2 separate regions of the Homo sapiens genome follow, and region 1 is linked to region 2. Evidence: promoter capture Hi-C in 16 types of primary human blood cells and fetal thymus (Javierre and others, 2016). All regions are on one chromosome and are shown on one strand. Each heading gives the region's core, a stretch centred on a gene start or on the middle of the fragment in contact. The rest is flanking DNA. Distances are from core to core; before and after follow the strand shown.

Region 1 (6,092 bases), core at 2,593-5,092, 250 kb after region 2:
AGAACATGGCATTTTGGAGATCCATCTCTTCGTCCTTTCAGAGCCTGCGACAGTGCATGGGGTTAGCACATACTCATTCTACTGGCATACCTTGAAGATACCGCAGATTTGGTTCCAGACCACCACAACAAAGCAAGTATCAAAATAAATTGTCACACAAATTTTCTGGTTTCCCAGTTCACATAAAAGTTATGTTCACACTATACACTAACTACAGTTAGTATTAAGTATGCAATATCATTATGTCTAAAAAAATCTAGATCCCATTAAGTACACGATTCATGGGAGGAGGCAAAATATCAACATTAACAGGAGTCTGGAAGATGTACCTACCTTAATTTAAAAATACTTTATTGCTAAAAACATTAAAAATCATCTGAGCCTTCAGTGAGTCCTAATCTTTTTGCCAGTGAAGGGTCTGCCCTTGATGCTGATGGATGTTGACTGATGAGGGTGGTGGTTGCTGAAAGGCGGGGTGGCTGTGGCAATTTTTAAAAATAAGACGATGAAGTTTGCTGCATTGAGTCTTCCTTTCACAAAAGATTTCTCTTTTGTGATGCTGCAATGCTGTTTCATAGCATTTTACCCACAGCTGAACTCCTTTCAAAATTGGAATCAGTCCTCTTAAACCTGCTGCTGCTTTACCAAGTAAGTTTATTCTAAATCCTTTATTGACATTTCAACAATGTTCACAGCATCTTCACCAGAAGTAGATTCCATCTCAATAAACCACTTTTTTTGCTCATCAATAAGAAGCAACTCATCTGTTCAATTTTTATGAGACTGCAACAACTTAGTCACATTTTCAGGCTCTACTTCTAATTCTAGTTCTTTTGCTTGTTCTACCACACCTGCAATTACTTCCTCCACTGAAGGCCTGAATCTCTCGAAGTCATCCATGAAGGTTGGAATCAACCTCTTCCAAATTCCTGTTAATGTTGATATTTTGCCCTCTTCCCATGAATCATGGATGTTCTTAACGTGTTTAGAATGGTGAAGCCTTTCCATAAAGTTTTCAATTTACAATATCCAGATGCATCAGAGGAATCACTATCCATGGCAGCTGTAGCCTTACAAATGGTTTTGACTTTTTTTTTTTTTTTTGAGACAGGGTCTGGCTCTGTTACCCAGGCTCGAGTGCAGTGGTGCAATCATGGCTGACTGCAGCCTCAACCTACCTGGGGTCAGGGAATCCTCCCACCTCAGCCTCCCAAGTAGCTGGGACCACAGGTGCATGCCACCACACTGGGCTAAATTTTGTATTTTTTGTAGAGATGGGGTCTCACCATGTTGGCCAGGCTGGTCTTGAACTCCTGGGCTCAAGCAATCCACCTGCCTTGACTTCCCAAAGTGCTGGGATTACAAGTGTGAGCCATTGCGCCTGGCTGTTATTTCTTAAATAATAAGACTGAAAATAGAAATTACTCCTTGATCCATGGGCTGCAGAATGGATGTTGTGTTAGCAGGCATGAAAACCCCACGTTAATCTCCTTGTAGATCTCCATCAGAGTTCTTGGGTGACCAAGTGTATTGTCCATGAGCAATAATATATTGAAAGAATCTTTTTTTTTCTGAGCAGTAGGTCTCAACAGTGGGCTAAAAATAATTCAGTAAACCATATTATAAAGAGATGTGCTGTCATCAAGGTTTTGTTTTTCCATTTCTAGAGCACAGGCAGAGTAGATTTAGCATAATTCTTACGGACCCTAGGATTTTTGGAATGGTAAGTATTAGCTTCAACTTAAAAGTCACCAGCTGCATTAGCTCCTAATGAGAGAGTTAGCCTGTCCTTTGAAAATATGAAGCCAGGCACTGACTTCTCTCTAGCTATGAAAGTCCTAAATGGCCCAGGCATAGTGGTTTTTGAGAGGCTTTGAGAGGCTAAAGTGGGAGGATTGCTTGAGTCCAGGAGTTTGAGACCAGCCTTGGCAACACAGTGGAATCCTGTCTCTACAAAAAAATACAAAAATTAGCCAGATGCGTTAGTTCATGCCTGTAGTCCCAGCTGCTTGAGAGGCTGAGGCAGGAGGATCACTTGAGCCCAGGAGGTCAAGGCTGCAGTGAGCTGTGATTGCACCACTGCACTCTAGCCTGGGCGACAGAGTGAGACCCTATCTCAAAAAAAAAAAAAAAAAAAAAGTCCTAGATGGCATCTTCTTCCAATAGAAGGCTGTTTCATCTACATTGAAAACCTGTTTAGTGTAGCCACCTTCATCAACTATCTTAGCTAGATCTGAATAATTTGCTTCTTCATCTCATACTTTTATGTTATGGAGATGGCTTCTTTCCTTAAACCTCATGAACCAACCTCTGTTAGCTTCACACTTTTCTTCTGCAGCTTTCTCACATGTCTCAGACTTCACAGGATTTAAGAGTTAGGGCCTTGCTCTAGATTAGGCTTTGGTTAAAGGGAATGTTGTGGCTGGTTTGCTCTTCTATCCAGACCACTAAAACTTTCTCTGTATCAGCAATGTAGCTGTTTTGCTTTCTTGTCATTCATGTGTTCAATACTGATCCCTCCGGCCCTAGACAACAATAGTCAGGTGTGGCTCTTTCCTGAAGCTCCTCTTCTTCTATTTAGACCCAGGATATTTACGGCTTCTGCTTACTCTTCTTTTTTTTCTTTTTTTTGAGACGGAGTCTCGCTCTGTCGCCCAGTCTGGAGTGCAGTGGCGCGATCTCGGCTCACTGCAAGCTCCTCCTCCTGGGTTCACGCCATTCTCCTGCCTCAGCCTCCCGAGTAGCTGGGACTACAGGCGCCCGCCACCATGCCTGGCTAATTTTTTGTATTTTTAGTAGAGACGCGGTTTCACTGTTTTAGCCAGGATGGTCTCGATCTCCTGACCTCGTGATCTGCCGCCTCAGCCTCCCAGAGCGCTGGGATTACAGGCGTGAGCCACCAGGCCCGGCTTTTTTTTTTTTTTTTTGAGACGGAGTCTCGCTCTGTTGTCCAGGCTGGAGTGCAGCTGCGCCATCTCAACTCACTGCAACGTCCACCTCCCGGGTTCGAGCGATTCTGTCTCAGCCTCCGGAGTAGCTGGGACTACAGGCATGTGCCACCATGCCCGGCTAATTTTTGTATTTTTAGCAGAGACGGGGGGTTTCACCATATTGGCTATTGGCTCTGCTGGTCTCGAACTCCTGACCTCAGGTGATCCGCCCACCTAGGCCTCCCAAAGTACTGGGATTACAGGCGTGAGCCACTGTGCCCGACCTTCTCTATATTATTTTTATTTATTTTTAATTAACAAAGCATAGAAACAGATTCAGGACATTCCTCCGAAGACGTTCCAGACTCGAGTCCTAGGACATGGTTGGGGCGGGGGTCATTTGATCGAGTGGCCTGTGTCCTTATCTGGAATACGGGACGACGCTGTAACTCTAACTCACCCTGCGAACTCACAGCTTTTGAGGTAAACAAGTGAGAAAGAAGAGACAATAAAGTGATCTTTCTTTACCATCTACCAAGGACCAGGTGGTTTACACGTCAGTTCATTTTCAGGAACACAGCAGCGCTCTGAAAACTACAGAGCTTCCTGGGCGTAGGGGGCTGTGGTCGCTTGAAAAGAACCAGCCTGGGGGTCCGAGTTCCACCGGAATTGGGTTCGAGCGCGGGTGAAAAGAGGGACCCGACAGCACCCACCCTCCAAGTAGAGGCAAAAGTTGAAAGTGGCGGGCTGGCTGCGCTTCCGAAGAAACACGACTGGCGAAGGCTCACCTTAGTCTCTACGGTGGGTCCCTCCCTGTAGCCGACCCGTTCCTTGAAGCGGGCCAGAAACGCCGGCTCGGCTGGCCGCACGTACGATACCTGGTTCCGCTTGCTCATGGTAGCTCTGGGTAAAGACAGAAGACAGGTTCCGCGACGGATTCGCGACGATACAGAGGCGCTTAGCTGTGACGTCACTGGGCCACGCCCCCGATGCGTAGGCCGGGCAACATGGCGGCCTCCATGCGGGCGTCAACGTCCGATCCAAGCGCCAAATTCAAATTTGCGGCCATCTTGAGCGGGCGGAATTCAGTCGCGCGCGGTGCAGTCGGGAGGTGGAGGCACCGGCTGCATTGTTTTCGGGATCGAGGGGTGAGGGCGCTATGGCACCCGGCTGCAAAAGTAAGTCTGGGCCCCCGGCTTCGTTACCCTATTTTTGCCCCCAAATACAGCTGTGAAAGGATGGCAGCCTCGGACCGCCCGCAAGGTTCTTGCTAGGCATGAACTGCAGGAGCTGAGTGACCGGCGGGGACGTTTGGGAATCCCGCTCTGTCGCTCAAAGACAATACGCTAGCCGAAAAGCTCATCCCTTCCTTCAGTGTCCTGTGCGCATGCCAGGAGTCTGGCGCAGTTCTAGGCGCTCGGGATGAGCAGTGGACCTGACGTTCTTCCCTTTCTTTCCCTTGGTTCTGCTGTTTCTTCGCAGGCCTCTTCCCACATCCCGACCAGGGCTACCTCTCTAGATATCCTTGTCTCAGGATCGGCTTTTGCTCCCACCAGCTTCTGCGTATTTCTACATTTCTGACCTTCCTATAGGGAAGGGTTTATTTATATTCCAAACATTTCTTTCTCCTCTTTCCTTAAATAAATGGAATGTTAAAACACAGATGTCAGCAATGTCTTTATGTTCTCACAGTCTCTATTTTCACTTAAAGGAGACCCGTCCGATTTCTTTCTCTTTTTCACGGAGGAGAGCACTGTCATTTTGCTTATGATAAACCCTACAGTTTTCACTAACGTAGTCATTTGCTGTGCCTGTGTACGTGCTCCACTTCTCACATTGCCACATCTCTTAAGGAGTCTTATTTTTGTAAACCTGATTATGAGCTGATTTAATGGGATCTTTGTGAGTGGTCTGAATGGTAATGAGGAGAGGCCTGGATTAGATGATTAAGAATTTGTGAACTTCTGTCATTTGAGCTTTCCAACGCCGTTAATGTTTCTAGCTTTCTGTCAATTGTAGTCGTTTTTGATGGGTTTGTTGTTTCATTAATCTTTTAGGTCGATCACACCTAATCGGAACACCTCCTTATGCTACCTTTTTGCATATAAAATATTCCTTTTCCTTTCATCATTTTCAGTATTCAAGGACTATGAGCTCACAAAATGGTACCTTATTGGAGAGAAATGTTCATCCTGCTTTCTGAACAATCATACTGTTTGTTCTTTGTTTCCACTTTATGGATCAGTCACTAAATCTGGACTCAAGCAAAAAATTTGATGCCTGTTAAATAAGTAAAACATCTGCTTATTTAATGAGATATATGTATGTGACTGAGGGCTCTTGTCTGAAAACCAAATTTGAGAACCTTTCTAAAGTGGTGGGAGCACTCTCCTTTATGATGGTGGTGATGCCATGGGGAACTTTTCCACTCCTTTAAGTTTGTTGGCAAAATTGAGGTTGATGACTTCCCAGTTAAAGTGCTTCTTGCATTCCCAGCAGCCCAGAGGCCTGGAGCATGAAGTGGGAACACATGGGAGAAGAGAGCCCGTGCAGTGGTCTTTGCAACTTTTACTTTGTGCCCCGAAGGCTATCTCTCTCTCTCTTTTTTATTTTTGAGACAGAGTCTTGCTCTATTGCCGGGCTGGAGTGCAGTGGTGCGATATTGGCTCACTGCAACCTCCGCCTCCCGGGTTCAAGAGATTCTCCTGCCTGAGTCTCCCAAGTAGCTGGGATTACAGGCACGCGCCACCATGCCCAGCTAATTTTTTTATTTTTAGTAAAGCCGGGGTTTCACTGTGTTGGCCAGGATGGTCTCGATCTCCTGACCTCGTGATTTGCCCACCTTGGCCTCCCAAAGTGCTGGGATTACAGGCATGAGCCACCACACCCGGCCCCATGAAGGCTATCTCTAGTGACATCATTGACACCATGAGTTGCTGACTGTGAAATCAGAGAAATGAAAAAGTGAAATATACGATTCCCCCCTTTTTTTTTTTAAAGACAGTGTTGCTCTGTCACCCAGGCTGGCTGGAGTGCAGTGACGCAATCTTGGCTCACTGCAATCTCCACCTCCTGGGTTCAAGCAGTACTCGTGCCTCAGCCTCCCAAGTAGCTGGGACTACAGGCGTGCACCACCATGCCCTGCTAATTTTTTGTATTTTA
Region 2 (6,128 bases), core at 1,799-4,298:
CTCCCAAAGTGCTGGGATTACAGGTGTGAGCCACCACGCCCGGCCTGGGGCTGGTTTTAACTAACTAGGTGACTGCAATCCACACAGGGTTTAGGAAGAAACAGGCTGCAGGGCAGAAGGCTGTAAAACTGGCTGACTGCTCAAGTTGATTAAATTCCTATGATCCCTGGAGGCCCTCTCTGTCTACTTATAGCAGCAAGACCTTCTTTTAAAAAGAGCCCCAGAACCTGTAAAATTAACCTGTGCCAGCAGCTGTGCTTGCTTAGAGAGAAAAAGGCTAAATATCAGTAACCACAAAGGAGAACTTAGCTCAGCAGTGCTACCCAGGCCTGAATCCTTGCTTCATTACCATATTAAAATCTCCACCTAGAAGGGAGAAATACACTTGCTAGGCACATATAGTGCTGGGTACAAAAGAAACAATGAGACTGGCCAGGCGCGGTGGCTCACGTCTGTAATCCCAGCACTTTGGGAGGCCAAGGCGGGTGGATCACCTGAGGTCAGGAGTTCAAGACCCTCCTGACCAACATGGAGAAACCCCGTCTCTATTAAAAATACTAAATTAGCCAGGCATGTGGTACATGCCTGTAATCCCAGCTATTTGGGGGGCTGAGACAGGAGAACTGCTTGAACCTGGGAGGCGGAGGTTGCGGTGAGCCAAGATCAAGCCATTGCACTCCAGCCTGGGCAACAAGAGCAAAACTCCATCGCAAAAGAAAAAAAAAGAAAGAAAGAAAGAAAAAAGAATGAGACTGAGCACACTCCAGTTCTTCCCATAGGGCCCCACCTCTTTCCAGGATCTCTGCCCCACTACATGCCCTAAGAGACCTTAAAAATCCCTCTTCACCACACCCAGAGGAGGGTACTTTGAGCATGAGCTTTTCCTTCTCCATTCCTTCATCAACAAATAAAGTTTCTGCACTGCTTAACGAAACTTGGTCTCATTTTATTGGCATGAACACCACCAGGCAGGTAAAGGACCCACTGAAGTCAAACGACTTCCCTTGAGAGTTGGTAACAGTAGCATTACAAGTCAGTGGGAAAAATTAAACTAGTCAATGAATTGTGTTGGGACAATTGGCTAGGCAAATAAAAATAGTAAGTAAAATCACACAAAAAATAAAGAAACTTAAAAAACAAAGCTAAAAGGCTGGGTGCGGTGGCTCACGCCTGTAATCCCAGCTCTTTGGGAGGCCAAGGTGGGTGGATCACAAGGTCAGGAGTTCAAGACCAACCTAACCAAGATGGTGAAATCCCATCTCTACTTTAAAAAAAAAAAAAGCCAGATGTGGTGGCAGGCGCCTGTAATCTCAGATACTCGGGAGGCTGAGGCAGAGAATTGCTTGAACCCAGGAGGCAGAGGCTGCAGTGATCCAAGATTGTGCCACTGCACTCCAGCCTGGGTGACACAGAGTGAGACTCTGTCTCAAAAAAAAAAAAGAAAAAAACCATAAAGACTCTAAGAACCCTGGTGTAACCAAGAATTTCTTAAGACAACAAAATGAAAAGAGTGAATATATTTGAATACATCAATATGAAAAAAATCTCTGTCCAAAAGAAAAGCAAAAGAAAAAAACACCAAACACAAACCACTAATAGATGTGGAAATGTAATAGCCAACAGGAAGGATAGTTTGAAAGTCCACAGTAAAACTAAAAAGACATATTCCTTACGCTACAGGAATTTAACTTGTAAGAATCTGCCCTGAAAAACACTTGCACGGGTATTCAGACATTTACACAGGTATTTACTAAAATATTCTCTGTAATAACATAATACTGGATTTAACCTACTTGTCCATCAATATGGCTAAATAAAAGTAGCATTTTTATAGGATGAAATACCATACAGCACCTAAAAGGAACATACTAGATCCTTATGCATCACCATGACTGTTCCACTATTCACCAGGTGGCCAGGCTGTGCTGCCAAGATTAAAAGGCCATCCAAGGAAGGGATAGCACATGATTTGAGGTCGCTGAGGACAGATACCAACCACATCAGGCCCCAAGAGGTACAGCGTATACTTACAGCAAAAGGAGAAACAGGGAACAAGATCCAGCCTCCTGCAATGCAAAGAGCCCCCACACCCAGCAGATCCACTCCACAGCTATAGGGCTGGTGTGATGCACACACCCCACTTAGTAAGGAAGAAAGATCTCAATCCACCCTCCCCACTCCTATGGGGTGTGAAATACAGAAGGCTGAGAGAATGAATGAAGGCCACTGACTTAAGAGATTAAACACAACAAAGGAGTACACATGAAGCCTGAAACACTGAAAGACACAAGGCATTAAATGCAGCAGCACAGGCTGTGAGGGCTCTAACTCTGCAAGGAAATGTTCCAGGCTCAAGGTCACTCTTACATTCTTAACTTGGCAATGGGCTATTTAAAAAAAAAAAAAAGACATTAAAAACTGTCAATTCTTCTTGTCTCCCAGTTTAGATATTCCTTCTTTCATTAATTTAACAAACACCTTCTAGGAGCACCTACTATTTCCCATACACTAAGGTAACAGCAGTTAATAAAGCAAACAGAAAGCACTGCCCTGGCAAGGGGCTTATGGGAAGATAACCAATAAACAAATACATGCTATGTTAGACGGCGACAGGTGCCAGGAAGTGAAATAAGACAAGAAAAAGGGAGAAGTCTATGCCAGATGTTTTCAATGTCAGGAGACCTGGAGACTAAGATTTCCGGACGGTGGCTACTTTCACTTTTCTTCCACTTATCTAATTGTCTCTAATAAGTACGCTTTATTCGCATAATTGGGTGAAAAGATAAAGCCAGAAGAAACCGGGAATTTTCCAGATTCTCTGCCCCAGACGCCCGGGGGGCGAAGAGGTATGCCCTCGGCGCGGCCGGGCGGGATCCACGGCCAGACCCCCGCCCCGGGTGCAGCCTCCAGGCCCGGCCTCACCTGCCACTCTCGCACGCACAGCCGCCCCCGCTCCGCACCCCGCGCCCCGCCGGGCCGCTCACCGACTCCGCCGCCGAGAGACAATCATCCAAACGCCGCCACCGCAGCCGACCGCCCCGCGCCTACCTCCCAGCTTCCCCAGTTGCGCACGCGCGTCGCCTCCCCGGGCCCTCTGCGGCCTCTCTAGGAAACTGGGAGGGCCAACATCTCTGCTTCTCCCTGGGCCCAGGGCCGCTGGCGGCGGGCGGCGGGCGGCGGGCGGCGGGCGGCGGGCGGCGGGCGGCGGGGCTTGTCCAGCATCCTTCGCCTCCTTCCGCGGACACTTGTCTTCCACGCTCTGATGCCCAGGCGCGCTCCAGAACTCTATCGGCTTTGGCGTATTATCCTACATCCCTCCCATCGGTTCTGCACGGCTGCCCTGGAGGCCTCTTTTCCTTCAGGGAAGAAAGGGATCCAAAGCTAGCGGTGAAAATAGAGCCAGCGGCCTGGCGCGGTGGCTCACGCCTGTAATCCCAGAACTTTGGGAAGCCGAGGTGGGCGGATCACGAGGTCAGGAGATCGGTGGCTAACACGGTGAAACCCCGTGTCTACTAAAAATAAAAAAAAAGTAGCTGGGTGTGGTGGCGCGGCGCCTGTAATCGCAGCTACTTCGGCGGCTGAGGCAGGAGAATCGTTTGAACCTGGGAGGCGGAGGTTGCAGTGAGCCGAGATCGTGCCACTGCACTCCAGCCTGGGAGACAGAGCCAGACTCCGTCTCAAAAAACAAACAAACAAAAAAATAGGGCCAGCACATCCCCAAACATAAAACCCTTGAATGGAGAAATTCCCAAACAAGGCAATAAGCCCAGCACTGGCCGTGAGAGTTTATTATCCCCTTTTAAGTAAATGCTACAAGCCCTAGGCGCACTTTTGCAACTGTTCAAGGGTCATCAGGCTGCACATGACTGACCAAGACACTCAGTTGCCCACTTTGGATGGAGCTACAGCTTTGTGGGAAAAACAGATAATAGAAATTACACAAATACATCAATGTCAAGTGGTTACGAACACTGTTGAAATGTAACAGAGTTATTTAATTGACAGCGACTGATGATAATGCTTGTATTTTTTCTGGTACTTTTCTGTATACTTCCGGTAGCTCATAACACACTGGCTGCCATGCATTGATTTGAGTTGCCCAAGGAAATAGAGTCAGTAACTGGAATAGCCACTGAATCCAAATCTTTTGGTCTTTTCACTACTGTGCTTCATAAAAGCTCTCCCGTCCCACGTCCCTGTAGAGGGAGAGTTGGGGATAGCATGGCTCCTAGCTGAGATCCCAGAAGCTAGGGGTAGAAGGTTGTGGGCAGGATAGTGAGGAGGGCAAGATTCCAAGGAAAACTAAAATCCCTGCCCAGGAACGGTTACCACCTGGGAAAGCAGGAATGACCCAACGCATCAAGGCCCAGAGTGTACTCAAAGAACAACAGGTTAGGATGAGGGTCAAAACTCAGACCAGAAAGAGCATTAGCTGAGCTTGGTGGTGCACGCCTGTAGTCCTAGCTACTGTGGAGGCAGAGGCGGAAGGATCGCTTGGGCCGGGGAGGTCGAGGCTGCAGTGAGCTATGATTGGGGCAGTGTACTCCAGCTTGGGCGACAGAGCGAGACCCAAGGAAGGAAGGGAGGAAGGGAGGGAGGGAAGTGAGAAAGAGAGAAAAGGAATGAAAGAGAGAAGGAAGAAAGAGAGAGAACGAGAAAGAGCAGGCTGCTTCTTGGGCTACAACCTGGAGAGGCTGTGTAACATTATGAGTTGGAGAAGCAGGTACAAAATAGTAAAAACTTCTATAAAGTAGACTAACAGCATGTGGCAGAACAGTGGGTTTTTAAAGGTGGGAACAAGAGAACCAAACAATAGCAAAAATAGATTGATTAACATCAGGTTACTTTTCTTTTAAGGATTAAAGCAGAGGGGGCCTTCCTTATGCTGACTGGGGTTAACTGGGCCCTTTCTGAATGGTTGCTATGAATCTCCTGTTTGCAGGAAAAACTGGTCTGTTAGGGGATTCACATACTTCTATAAAATTTCAGTTTGATTATGTGGCATTTAGCATTAGGAATTCCTTCATTTATTTATTTATTTATTTTGAGACGGAGCCTCCCTCTGTCACCCAGGCTGGAGGGCAGTGGTGTGATCTCGGCTCACTGCAACCTCCGCCTCCCCTCCTGGGTTCAAGTGATTCTCCTGCCTCAGCCACCCAGTAATTGGGACCACAGACACAGGCCACCATCCCCAGCTAATTTTTGCATTTTTAGTAGAGCCAGGATTTGTCATGTCTGCCAGGCTGATCTCGAACTCCTGACCTCAGGTGATCTGCCCACCTCGGCCTCCCACAAGTGCTAGGATTACAGGTGTGAGCCACAGCGCCCAGCCTTATTTATAATTATTTATTTATTTATTTATTTTGAGATGGAGTCTCACTCTGTCACCCAGGCTGTAGTGCAGTGGCGCGATCTTGGCTCACTGCAGCCTCCGCCTCCCGGGTTCAAGCGATTCTCCTGCCTCAGCCTCCTGAGTAGCAGGGATTACAGGCATGTGCCACCATGCCTGGCTAATTTTTGTATTTTTAGTAGAGATGGGGTTTCACCATCTTGACCAGGCTTGTGTTGAACTCCTGACCTCAGGTGATCCGCCTGCCTCTGCCTCCCGAAGTGCTGGGATTACAAGATGAGCCACTGTGCCCGGCTTATTTATTTATTTTTGAGACAAAGTCTGGCTCTATCGCCCAGGCAGGAGTGCAGTGAGTGGTAGGATCTCAGCTCACTGCAACCTCCACCTGCTGGGCTCAGGCCATCATCCCACCTCAGCCTCCTGAGTAGCTGGGACTACAGGCGCACACCACCACACCCGGATAAGTTTTTTTTTTTTTTTTTTGGTAGAGATGGGGTTTTGCCATGTTGCCCAGGCTGGTCTTGAACTCTTGACCTCAGGTGATCCACCTGCCTAGGACTCCCAAAGTGCTGGGATTACAGGAGTGAGCCATGGCGCCCAGCCACTGGTTGTTAATCTTTTAAATATCATCCCTGAGAAGAAAAGAGACCTAGGTAACAGAACTGAAACAGTTCTGTCTGTGAACTGGAAGGAAGTCGTTGAGGAGGTCAATTTCTTTCCCTTCCTGCAGCCCCTCCTCATAGGTAGAAGGAGACAAGGTGGAAAAACAGCTCCTTTA

Evidence for each region. Contacts are between HindIII fragments. The CHiCAGO score rates a contact against its expected background, and 5 or more counts as called.
Region 1: a contact is called between the fragment with the promoter of KIAA1143 here and the fragment with the promoter of ZNF852 in region 2, in 1 of 17 cell types (neutrophils). The highest score is 5.3, in neutrophils.

The regions. Positions count from the first base shown.
Region 1 is chr3:44,757,777-44,763,868 of GRCh38, forward strand. KIAA1143 reads right to left here and starts at 3,843. Exons shown (of 3, transcript NM_020696.4): 1 at 3,719-3,843. The coding sequence starts at 3,826. It overlaps KIF15 (kinesin family member 15), which reads left to right and starts at 4,018. Exons shown (of 35, transcript NM_020242.3): 1 at 4,018-4,108. The coding sequence starts at 4,090. RefSeq lists enhancers at 2,356-2,998, 3,789-4,068. The HindIII fragment of the contact is 21,704 bases long and covers 1-6,092 here.
Region 2 is chr3:44,507,569-44,513,696 of GRCh38, forward strand. It overlaps ZNF852 (zinc finger protein 852), which reads right to left and starts at 3,049. Exons shown (of 4, transcript NM_001423469.1): 1 at 2,985-3,049. RefSeq lists enhancers at 2,432-3,208, 3,209-3,985, 3,444-3,503 and silencers at 2,814-2,973, 2,984-3,043, 3,174-3,223. The HindIII fragment of the contact is 19,774 bases long and covers 1-6,128 here.